2 separate regions of the Homo sapiens genome follow, and region 2 is linked to region 1. The links are contacts of gene promoters, found by promoter capture Hi-C in human tissues and cell types (Jung and others, 2019). All regions are on one chromosome and are shown on one strand. The core of a region is centred on a gene start or on the middle of the fragment in contact, and the rest is flanking DNA. Distances in the headings are between cores, read along the strand shown. Region 1 holds the start of PEX11G (peroxisomal biogenesis factor 11 gamma). Region 2 holds the start of MYO1F (myosin IF).

Region 1 (5,022 bases), core at 1,125-3,624:
ACTCTCAGCCACTTGGGAGGCCGAGGCAGGAGAATTGCTTGAACTTGGGAGGCGGAGGCTGCCGTGAGCTGAGATCATGCCACTGCACTCCAGTCTGGGTGACAGAGTGAGACTCTGTCTCAAAAAAAAAAAAAAAAAAAAAAAATCAAGAAGTGGTAAAAATACAGAGAGACAGCAGAGAATGCAGATTAGTGGTTGCCAGGGGCTGGGAGGAGGGAGGAATTGAGTGATTGCTTTATGGGAACAGGGTGTAGGGGAGGAAACATACTTTTTCCTTTATTCTTAGTTCTTAGCTGTGATGGATCCTTGCAATGAAAGAATTAAGAAGGGCGGGTGCGGTGGTTCACGCCTGTAATTCCAGCACTTTGGAAGGTCGACGTGGGAAGATTGCTTAAGCCCAGGGCTCAAGGCCAGCCTGGGTAACATGGTAAGACTCCATTTCTACAAAAAATAAAAAATAAAAAGAAATTAGCCAATTGTGGTGGCAGGCACCTGTGGTCCCACCTACTCAGGATGCTGAGGTGGCAGGATGGCTTGATCCCAGGAGTTCAAGGCTGCAGTGAGTTAAGATCGTGCCGCTGCACTCTACCCCTTTTTTGTGGGTAGTTGGTCAAGCTACCATGGGGCAGAATGTAGCAAGCTCTGGGCATCATCCTGGGTCCTCAGGCCCAGAGAGCACACAAGTGGCGGCTTCACATCTACAAATTTGGTTCCTCCCAGAGCGAGGCCCTGTCTCAAAAAAAAAAAAAAAAAAAAAAAAAAAAAATAGAGGCCAGGCGCGGTGGCTCACGCCTGTAATCCTAGCACTTTGGGAGGCAGAGACGGGCGGATCACGAGGTCAGGAGATCAAGACCATCCTGGCTAACACGGTGAAACCCCGTCTCTACTAAAAATACAAAAAAAAAAAAAAAAAAAAAATTACCCAGGCGTGGTGGCGGGCGCCTGTAGTAGTGCCAGCTACTCGGGAGGCTGAGGCAGAAGAATGGCGTGAACCCGCGAGGCGGAGCTTGCAGTGAGCCGAGATCGTGCCACTGCACTCCAGCCTGGGCGACAGAGCGAGGCTCCGTCTAAAAAAAAAAAATTAACAAGGGAAAAACAAATTTATTAACATGTGTACCTTATGTGTACATGGGAGATGCCAAGAGAAATGAGGTGGCTTATATAGCTTATATAACTCCTGCTTATATAGCACCTTCAACATATAGCAGCAAATTTTTGGAGAAGTGACAAGACGAAGGAAAAGGACATTGAGGCCGGGTGCGGTGGCTCACGCTTGTAATCCCAGCACTTTGGGAGGCCGAGGCGGGCGGATCACTTGAGGCCAGGAATTTGAGAACAGCCTGGCCAACGTGGTGAAACCCCGACTCTACCAAAAATACAAAAATTAGCCGGGCACAGTGGTGCACAGCTGTGATCCCAGCTACTTGGGAAGCTGAGGCACGAGAATCGCTTGAACCAGGGAAGCGGAGGACGCAGTGAGCAGAGATGGCGCTACTGCACTCTAGCTTTGGGGACAGAGCAAGACTCCGTCTCAAAAAAAAAGAAAAAAAAAAAAAAGACGTCTCCAGACAAGAGTCTAAAGGTGTCCCTGGTGATCAACCTTTGTCCTTCCTGGTAGAGAGGGGAGGAGGGCACCTTTGTACCTTTAGGTCCTGCTTTGAGGCAAATCAGGGAAGAACAGAGAGCTTTTCCGGTATCAGCTTCATTGATCTCAGCTCAAAATAATCCTACACCAAGGTCGCATATTTCAGAGGGGCATATGCTGGTCTCCTACGGGGGTCTCTCTTGGGGGTGATAAAAATACCCCGAAACTAGCAAGGGGTGATGGTTGTCCAACATGTGCATGTACTAATGTCACTGAATTGTGCATTTTTATTTTTTATTTATGTATTCTAGAACAATTCTTAACGTCCAAAGATAACGTCTTTCCTTAACGTCGAAAGATGCCTTGTTGTGATATTACAGCAGTCATTCCTGCTCACTACGGGCAGGCAGACAGTGCAGAAAAGGTGAAGCACAAAAACTAAAAAGGAAAATCTCTCCTTGAACCACTGCGAACAGGTTGGTGGTTTTGCTTGGAATATTTTTGGAGCGTGTGGGTAGTTGGTTAAACTTAGAAATATATTTTTTTGTGCGTGGGTAGTTGGCCAAACCGCCGTGGGGCAGAATGCAGCAAACTCCGAGGATGATCCAGGGTCTGCAGGCCTGGAGAGCACACACGTGTCGGCCCCACCTCTGCAAACTCTGTCCCTCCCCTACAGCGGACAAAAAGCCGGTCAGGGGGACAAAGGCCTGCGGCCGCGCCTGCGCGCAAGCCTTTGGGGCGCTCCCGGTACCCCGGCCTGGCCCCGCCCCCTGGCGCGGCGCGCCGACGTCGCGGTGACGTCACGGAGTTGCCATGGCGTCGCTGAGCGGCCTGGCGTCGGCGCTGGAGTCGTACAGGGGCCGGGACCGCCTGGTGAGGCAGGGGCGGACCGGGGCCGGAGGTCCTAGAGTTTGGCCCAAGCTCAGAGACTGGGAAACGGGCCAGAGAGGGGACGGGGTCGCCCAGGATACTCCGTCGCAGAGGCCCCGTCCGAGCTAGGCTCAAATGCGGTGCCCTAGCATTGGACATTTATGTATTTATTTATTTTGGCTGGAGTGCAGTGGTGCGATCTCTGCTCACTGCAGCCTCCGCTTCCCGGGTTCAAGCGATTCTCCTGCCTCAGCACTCCCGAGTAGCTGGGACTACAGGCGCCCGCCACCACTCCCTGCTATTTTTTTGTATTTTTAGTAGAGACGGAGTTTCATCGTGTTAGCCAGGATGGTCTCGATCTCCTGGCCTCAAGCGATCCACCTGCCTCGGCCTCCCAAAGTGCTGGGATTACAGGCGTGAGCCACCGCGTCTGGCCAGCGTTGGACATTTAGATAGTTTCTGCCAACCCAACCTGTCTGGACATTGACACACTGGCCAGATTCCCGTGTTTGGACGTTTTGGATCCGACCAGGCCACTGAAGTTGTCCTGAACAATCTCGTGTTGGGATTTGGGATGTTGCAGGGCTCCCCTGTGGCTGGACATTCACTTCCAACCAGATTCCCTATAGTTGGGCATTTAGGTTGTTTCAGCCAACCTAGACCAAAGAACACGCCATGGCCTGGGCCCTGCCATGCCTAAGCAGCGATGGGTTCCAACAAAACCCCAGTTGGTCATTTAGATCGTCTCTGCCAACCCAGCCTGGCTGGACGTTTACATACCAAACAGATTCCCATGTTTGGACATTTAGGATCTGACCGGGCCACTGTAGTTGGTCCCTGGGTTGTCCCAAACAATCTCATGTGGGGATTTAGGATATTGCAAGACTCTCCCTATGGCTGGACAGTTTTTAGTTCCAATCAAGTCCCATATGGTTGAACATTTAGGTTATGCCATCCATGCCCCTGAGTCTGGACTCTTAGCTTGTCCCCACCAGTCTCTTATAGGTAGACATTCAGGTTGTACCAGGCGGTGTACTGGTGGCTAGGCATTTAGATTCCATTCAAATATCTTATGATTGGGGGGGTGGGTTAACAAATCTCCCCCGAGTTGAACATTCAGATTGCAGTGTTTTGCCATTATAATGGGGCTGGAAAGGAATTACAAGTAAAAATAAATAAAACAACAGGAACAAGCAATTTCTGAAAAGCAGGTAAAATAAAGATATAAGGGAGGCCAGGCGTGGTGGCTCGCGCCTGTGATCCTAGCACTTTGGGAGGCTGAGCTGGGTGGATTGTCTGAGCTCAGGAGTTTGAGACCAGCCTGGGAAAAGTGATGAAACCTCGTCTCTACTAAAATACAAAAATTAGCCGGATGTGGTGGTGCGTGCCTGTAGTCCCAGCTACTTGGAAGGCTGAGGCGGGAGAATTGCTTGAACCTGGGATGCAGAGGTTGCAGTGAGCTCACACCTTTGCACTCGAGCCTGGGGAGCAGAGCAAGACTCTGTCTCCAAAAGAAAAAAGATCTGAGTAGTGAAGATGACCTATTTCAGAAGGCTCCACATCACCTACTGAGTAGGTTCTTTCTCTCTAAAGTAATTCTACCAAATTATCCTGTTGTTCACTGGGTTGAGGCCTGATCACCTGTGCCCACCATTCAGCACATCCAAAGGCTTTGGTCCAGGCAGGTAGATGTAAATATACACTTTAGCTGTGGCTTCCTGCCACCTGGGAAAAGAAGGACCTAGGAGGTGGGAAGTAAGGAGCTTTGTTTTCTTTGTTCCTGTCACATCTGTTCCCAAAGGCTGTGCCCTTCAGTTACATCAATGATGTCATGTTTCTTCATTTGTCCCACCTCCAAGTATGTTTTTAAACTTCCAGCTTTTTTTTTCTTTTTCTTTTTCTTTTTTTAGACAGGGTCTCGCCCTGTTGCCCAGGCTGGAGTGTAGTAGCACGATTACAGCTCACTACAGTCTGGAACTCCTGGGCTCAAGTGATCCTCCAGCATCAGCCTCCCAAGTAACCACCATGCCCTGTTAACTTAAAAAAATTTTTGGTAGCCAGGCGCGGTGGCTTACGCCTGTAATCCCAGCACTTTGGGAGGCCGAGGCGGGTGGATCATGAGGTCAGGAGATCAAGACCATCCTGGCTAAAATGGTGAAACCCCATCTCTACTAAAAATACAAAAAATTAGGTGGGCTTGGTGGCGGGTGCCTGTAGTCCCAGCTACTCGGGAGGCTGAGGCAGGAGAATCGCATGAACCCGGGAGGTGGAGCTTGCAGTGAGCCGAGATCGCGCCACCGCACTCCAGCCTAGGTGACGGAGCAAGACTCCGTCTCAAAAAAAAAAATTTTTTTGGTAGACACAGGGTCTTGCTATGTTGCCCAGGCTGGTCTCAAACTCCTGGTGTGAAGGCATCCTCTCACCTCGGTTTCTCAAAGTGCTGGGGTTACAGGTGTGAGCCACTGTGCCCCACCTAAACTTTCAGCTTTTACTGTCACTTTGTAGATTTAGAATCTTCCAAACTCTTGGGTCAGGCACGGTGGCTCATGCCTGTAATCCCAGCACTT
Region 2 (4,640 bases), core at 551-3,050, 1.1 Mb before region 1:
CTCTCCGTCACTCCGCATGCTCCAGCCACACCAGCCTCCCCGAACTTCCTCAATTGCCCTATGGTTTTCCCATATCTGGGCCTTTGCTTGAGCGCTTAGCATGGCCAGGTGCACGCTCCTGCCCCTTTACCTTTTTTAACTCCAGCTTACTCGCCGGTGTCAGCACAAACGTTGCCTCTTCCTAGAAGCCTCCCCTGATGGCCCCCAACAAAGTGGGGTCCTCTTACCCATTCATATTCACTCTTGAGTGCCTGGAGACATTGCTGAGAATTGCATGCCCCAAGCCCGTCAATTCTGCAAACTCGCTCAGGAGATTCCAGCAGAGACGGGCTCCTTCCCAGCTGTGGCCACTAGGGGCGCTGCATATTAACATCTTCAAGGGGGATGCGGGTTTATCGCCCTGGACCAAAGATAGATCTGAACATGGGTCCCCCAGGGTCTCCCAGGGTCGGGTCCTGCCTCGGCCACCTCCTTGCTGGGTGGTGTGGGGAAGTAACAACCTATTAGAACTGCCATTTCCTCACATGTCAAGAGGAGCCTCAGGTGGTTGGCTGGTGTCCCAAAGACCAGCTCATAGGCTGACACGTACCTGGGCCAGGCTCTGCTGGGGGGACCCACGTTCCCATTTTACAATGAGAAAAGGGAGTAACTAAGTCATCCAGGAAGTAGCCAAACTGGAGGCTGTTAAATCTAGATGTGACATCCAAAGTCAGGGACCTTTCAGATGCACCTGCTTCCCAGTACCCTCCACTTCTGCACACAAACACGTGTGACTTCTGAGGGTCATCTAAAGAGGGAGGTTGGGCCAGGCGTGGTGGCTTATGCCTGTAATCCCAGCACTTTGGGAGGCCGAGTTGGGAGGATCACCTGAGGTCAGGAGTTCAAGGCCGGCCTGGCCAACATGGCGAAATTCCGTCTCTACTAAAAATACAAATATTAGCCAGGTGTGGCGGTGGGCACCTGTAATCCCAGCTACTCAGGAGGCTGAGGCAGGAGAATCGCTTGAACCCAGGAGGCGGAGATTAAAGTAAGCTGAGATTGCACCACTGCATTCTAGCCTGGGTGACAGAGCTAGACTCCGTCTCAAAATAATAACAATAATAATAATGAAGGAGGTTGCCCAGGGATGCCCAGAGCAGACACAGCTGAAGAAGGCACCCTTCCCTGTTGTTGTTGTTTTTTTGGTTTTTTTGTTTTTTCTGGTTTGTTTTTAGAGACAGGGTCTCACTCTTTCGCCCAGGCTGGAGTGCAGTGGCGCAATCAGGGCTCACTGAGGCCTCCACCTCCCAGGTTCAAGCAATCCTCCCACCTCAGCCCTCTGAGTAGCTGGGACTGCAGGCTCATGCCACCATGCCCAGCTAATTTTTTTTCTTTTCATTTTTTGTAGAGATGGGGTCATGCTATATAGCCCAGGCTGGTCTCAAACTCCTGGACTCAAGCGATCCTCCAACCTTGGCCCCCCAAAGTATTGGGATTACAGGCGTGAGCCACCTCCCCTGGGCCCCTTCCTTGGTTTTAAAAAGAGACCCGGGAAGCCCAAATGCTTCCTGAATCGCCCTGAAAAGAGGTGGTTCGTCCTGCAGCCAGCTGACCCAAATGTTCCTGCAGCAGCCCTGTCCCCAAGGAGTTGGGGAAGAGGCCTCTGAGGTCCAGTAGTGGCTGCCATCAAGTTCTGACCCCTCCCTTCAGGCTCAGAGCCCCAAACAGCCAGCTCCCCGCCCCCCTCCACACCCAGCTTCCCTCCCCCATGGCCTCGGCCCCTCCCGCCAAAGGAAGTGAGAAGGGGCTGTTGTAAGAGGAACTAAAGCCGGGAGTCCGGTGAACGGGCAGAAGCAGGGCCATGCCCAAGCCACCCCCAAGATCCCCCTGAACCTGCACCTCCATCACGACCCATTCAGGAGCCTCCAGGAGCCCAGACACCAGCCCCCCACCATGGTAAGTCCTTCAAGGGTGGGATCTGGAAGAAGAAAGAGGAGGGACACCAGCCAGGTGGAGGTGTCCTAAAAATGACCATCAGAAATTGGGGTGAGGGGAGGGGCATGGTGGACTTCTGTGGGGGTGGGGTGTCTCTCAGTGCAGCTCAGGTGCCTCCAGCATCCCTTACCAGGGAGCAAGCTCCCATCTGTAGGTGGTGGGGATGCCAGGGTGGTATCCCTGGATCCAAGGATAGGGCAGGACCTGGAAGACAGAAGGTGGCCCAGGGAGAATCACAGAGTCTGCAGGGACAAGGACATAGCCTCCTTTGCTTGCAAATTAAGGGAGCCCTTTCCCAGTCCAGCCCAGTCTCTCGTCTCCCTGTGTAGCCTTGGGCTAGTCACTTCCCCTCTCTTGGCCCCGGTTCCCACAGATGTCATATTTGGAAATCCGTCTAGATGCGGAAGTTGCTCTTCAGGGGTCTTTCAGTTGCAACATTCTCAAGGTCTGTGGGTTCTGCCACAGAGTCCTCGGCTGAGATGGGAAGCTATGTCTAACAAGCGATGGGGTGGATTGACGCCCTCCCTGTGCCGGTGACGGGCGGTATGGCTGCAGCAGAGGCAGGAGAGGCTGAATACGTCCATGCCACCCTTTGGTGGGCATCCCTTATCCCAAGAGGAGGATGGCAGCCAGAGGTGTTGCTGCCTGTCAAGTCTGAGGTCTGTCGATGATAGCAACGGGGAGACTGTCGTGATCATGGCGCTATTCCTAGCAGTATCGTACCACCATAAGACGCAAAGTAAGAGGTGGCCAGGGCTGACCCCACCCCACAGCTCTCTGCTGTGTAGACCACTTCAGCTTTCATTTCTCGTCATTCAGTCAGTGAGGATGAGAGCATGTGGCTGTGACAGCGGCCACTGCAGGATTCTTGGCAGGTACAGCTTACTAGGGTGGAGTCAGGGACATAGGGCAAGAGGCAGAGGTGGTGTTAGTCTGAGAGACAACACCTTCTTTCAGGAAGCCAGTGAGGGCCAGGGACAGTGGCTCATGCCTGTAATCCCAGCATTTTAGGAGGCTGAGACAGGTAGATCACTTGAGGTCAGGTGTTCGAGACCAGCCTGGCCAACGTGGTGAAACCTCGTCTCTACTAAAAAATACAAAAAATTAACTGGGCGTGGTGGCACACGCCTGTAATCCCAGCTACATATGAGGCTGAGGCAAGAGAATAACTTGAACCCAGGAGGCGGAGGGTGCAGTGAGCTGAGATCCTGCCGCTGCACTCCAGCCTGGGTGACAGAGCACACTCCGTCTCAAAAAAGGAAAGCTGATGAGAAATTGGGCATCCCGGAATTCACACCCAAACCATCAGCTGGAGCTCTGAGACTGTTGGGGTGGGAATTCTTCCAAGATGAGAAGCAAGCCAGGGAGGCTCAGGTCCTGGGATGGGCAGGGCTTTGATCAAAAGAACACAGGAAGTGATTTGCTACTTGAAAGAAAGGCAACCCCTCCCCAAGGAAGCCCTCTGAAAATGCTTAGTCAACAGTCGGCTTGGCAGACAAGGTCTGGGAGGGGCCACCCGTATCGCAGAGGATGATAGAAGAGAAAAAAATGACACCCACCTCTGTCTGGGGATGCTGAAATCTTCCTGGAGGAGTGGTGAATGCCAGGAAGATCGCTGAAGGATTCAATGAAACAGTATTTCTGAAGTCCTTTACAACAGGGTCCCCAACCCCCGGGGTCATGGACTGCTATCGGGCCATGGTCTGTCTGTTAGAAACCATGAGCCCTATCGGGTCACAGAGCAGGAGATGAGTGGCAGGCAAGCAAGCCCGAGCTCCACCTCCTCTCAGATTCTCGGGGGCGCCATTAGATTATCACAGGATCGCAAACCCTGTTGTGAACTGCACACACGAGGGATCCAGGTTGCATGCTGCTTATGACAATCTAATGCCCGGCCGGGTGCGGTGGCTCACACCTGTAATCCTAGCACTTTGGGAGGCCGAGGCGGGCAGATCACGAAGTCAAGAGATAGAAACGATCCTGGCCAACGTGGTGAGACCCCGTCTCTCCTAAAAATACAAAAATGAGCTGGGTGTGGTGGCACATGCCTGTCATCCTAGCTACTCGGGAGGCTGAGGCAGGAGAATCGCTTGAACCCGGGAGGCGGAGGTTGCAGTGAGCCAAGATCACACCATTGCACTACAGCCTCGGCGACAGAGCCAGACTCCGTCTCAAAAAAAAAAAAAAAAGAAAAAGAAAATCTAATGCCGTTGGCAGGGTGCAGTGGCTCATGCCTGTAATCTCAACACTTTTGGAGGCCGAGGTGGGCGGATCACCTGAGGTCAAGAGTTCAAGACCAGCCTGGCCAACATGGCAAAACCCTGTCTCTACTAAAAATACAAAAATTAGCCAGTCGTGGTGGTGCGCGCCTGTAACCCCAGCTACCCGGGAACCTGAGATAGGAGAATCACTTGAACCCAGGAGGCAGAGGTCGCAATGAGACGAGATCACGCCACTGCACTCCAGCCTGGGCCACAGAGAGAGGCTCCATCTCAAAAAAAAAAGAAAGAGAGAGAGAAAGAAAGAAAGAAAAAGAAAGAAAGAAAGAGAAAGAAAAAGAAAGAAAGAGAGAAAGAGAAAGGAAGAAAGAAAGAAAGAGAGAAAGAAGAAAGAGAAAGAAAGGAAAGAAAGAAAGAAAGAAAGAAAGAAAGAAAGAAAGAAAGAAA

What was found. The method cuts DNA at HindIII sites, captures the fragments that hold promoters and counts their contacts. A contact is called where the count stands out against the background at its distance.
Region 2: the fragment with the promoter of MYO1F here is called in contact with the fragment with the promoter of PEX11G in region 1 in 1 of the 25 tissues and cell types used here (bladder).

What each region holds. Positions count from the first base shown.
Region 1 is chr19:7,486,387-7,491,408 of GRCh38, reverse strand. PEX11G (peroxisomal biogenesis factor 11 gamma) reads left to right here and starts at 2,374. Exons shown (of 5, transcript NM_080662.4): 1 at 2,374-2,458. The coding sequence starts at 2,399. RefSeq lists silencers at 2,188-2,517, 2,568-2,627. The HindIII fragment of the contact is 14,364 bases long and covers 1-2,578 here.
Region 2 is chr19:8,574,602-8,579,241 of GRCh38, reverse strand. MYO1F (myosin IF) reads left to right here and starts at 1,800. Exons shown (of 28, transcript NM_012335.4): 1 at 1,800-1,935. The coding sequence starts at 1,933. RefSeq lists silencers at 274-468, 1,689-1,838, 2,376-2,425 and enhancers at 2,546-2,725, 2,896-2,955, 3,296-3,355. The HindIII fragment of the contact is 34,715 bases long and covers 1-4,640 here.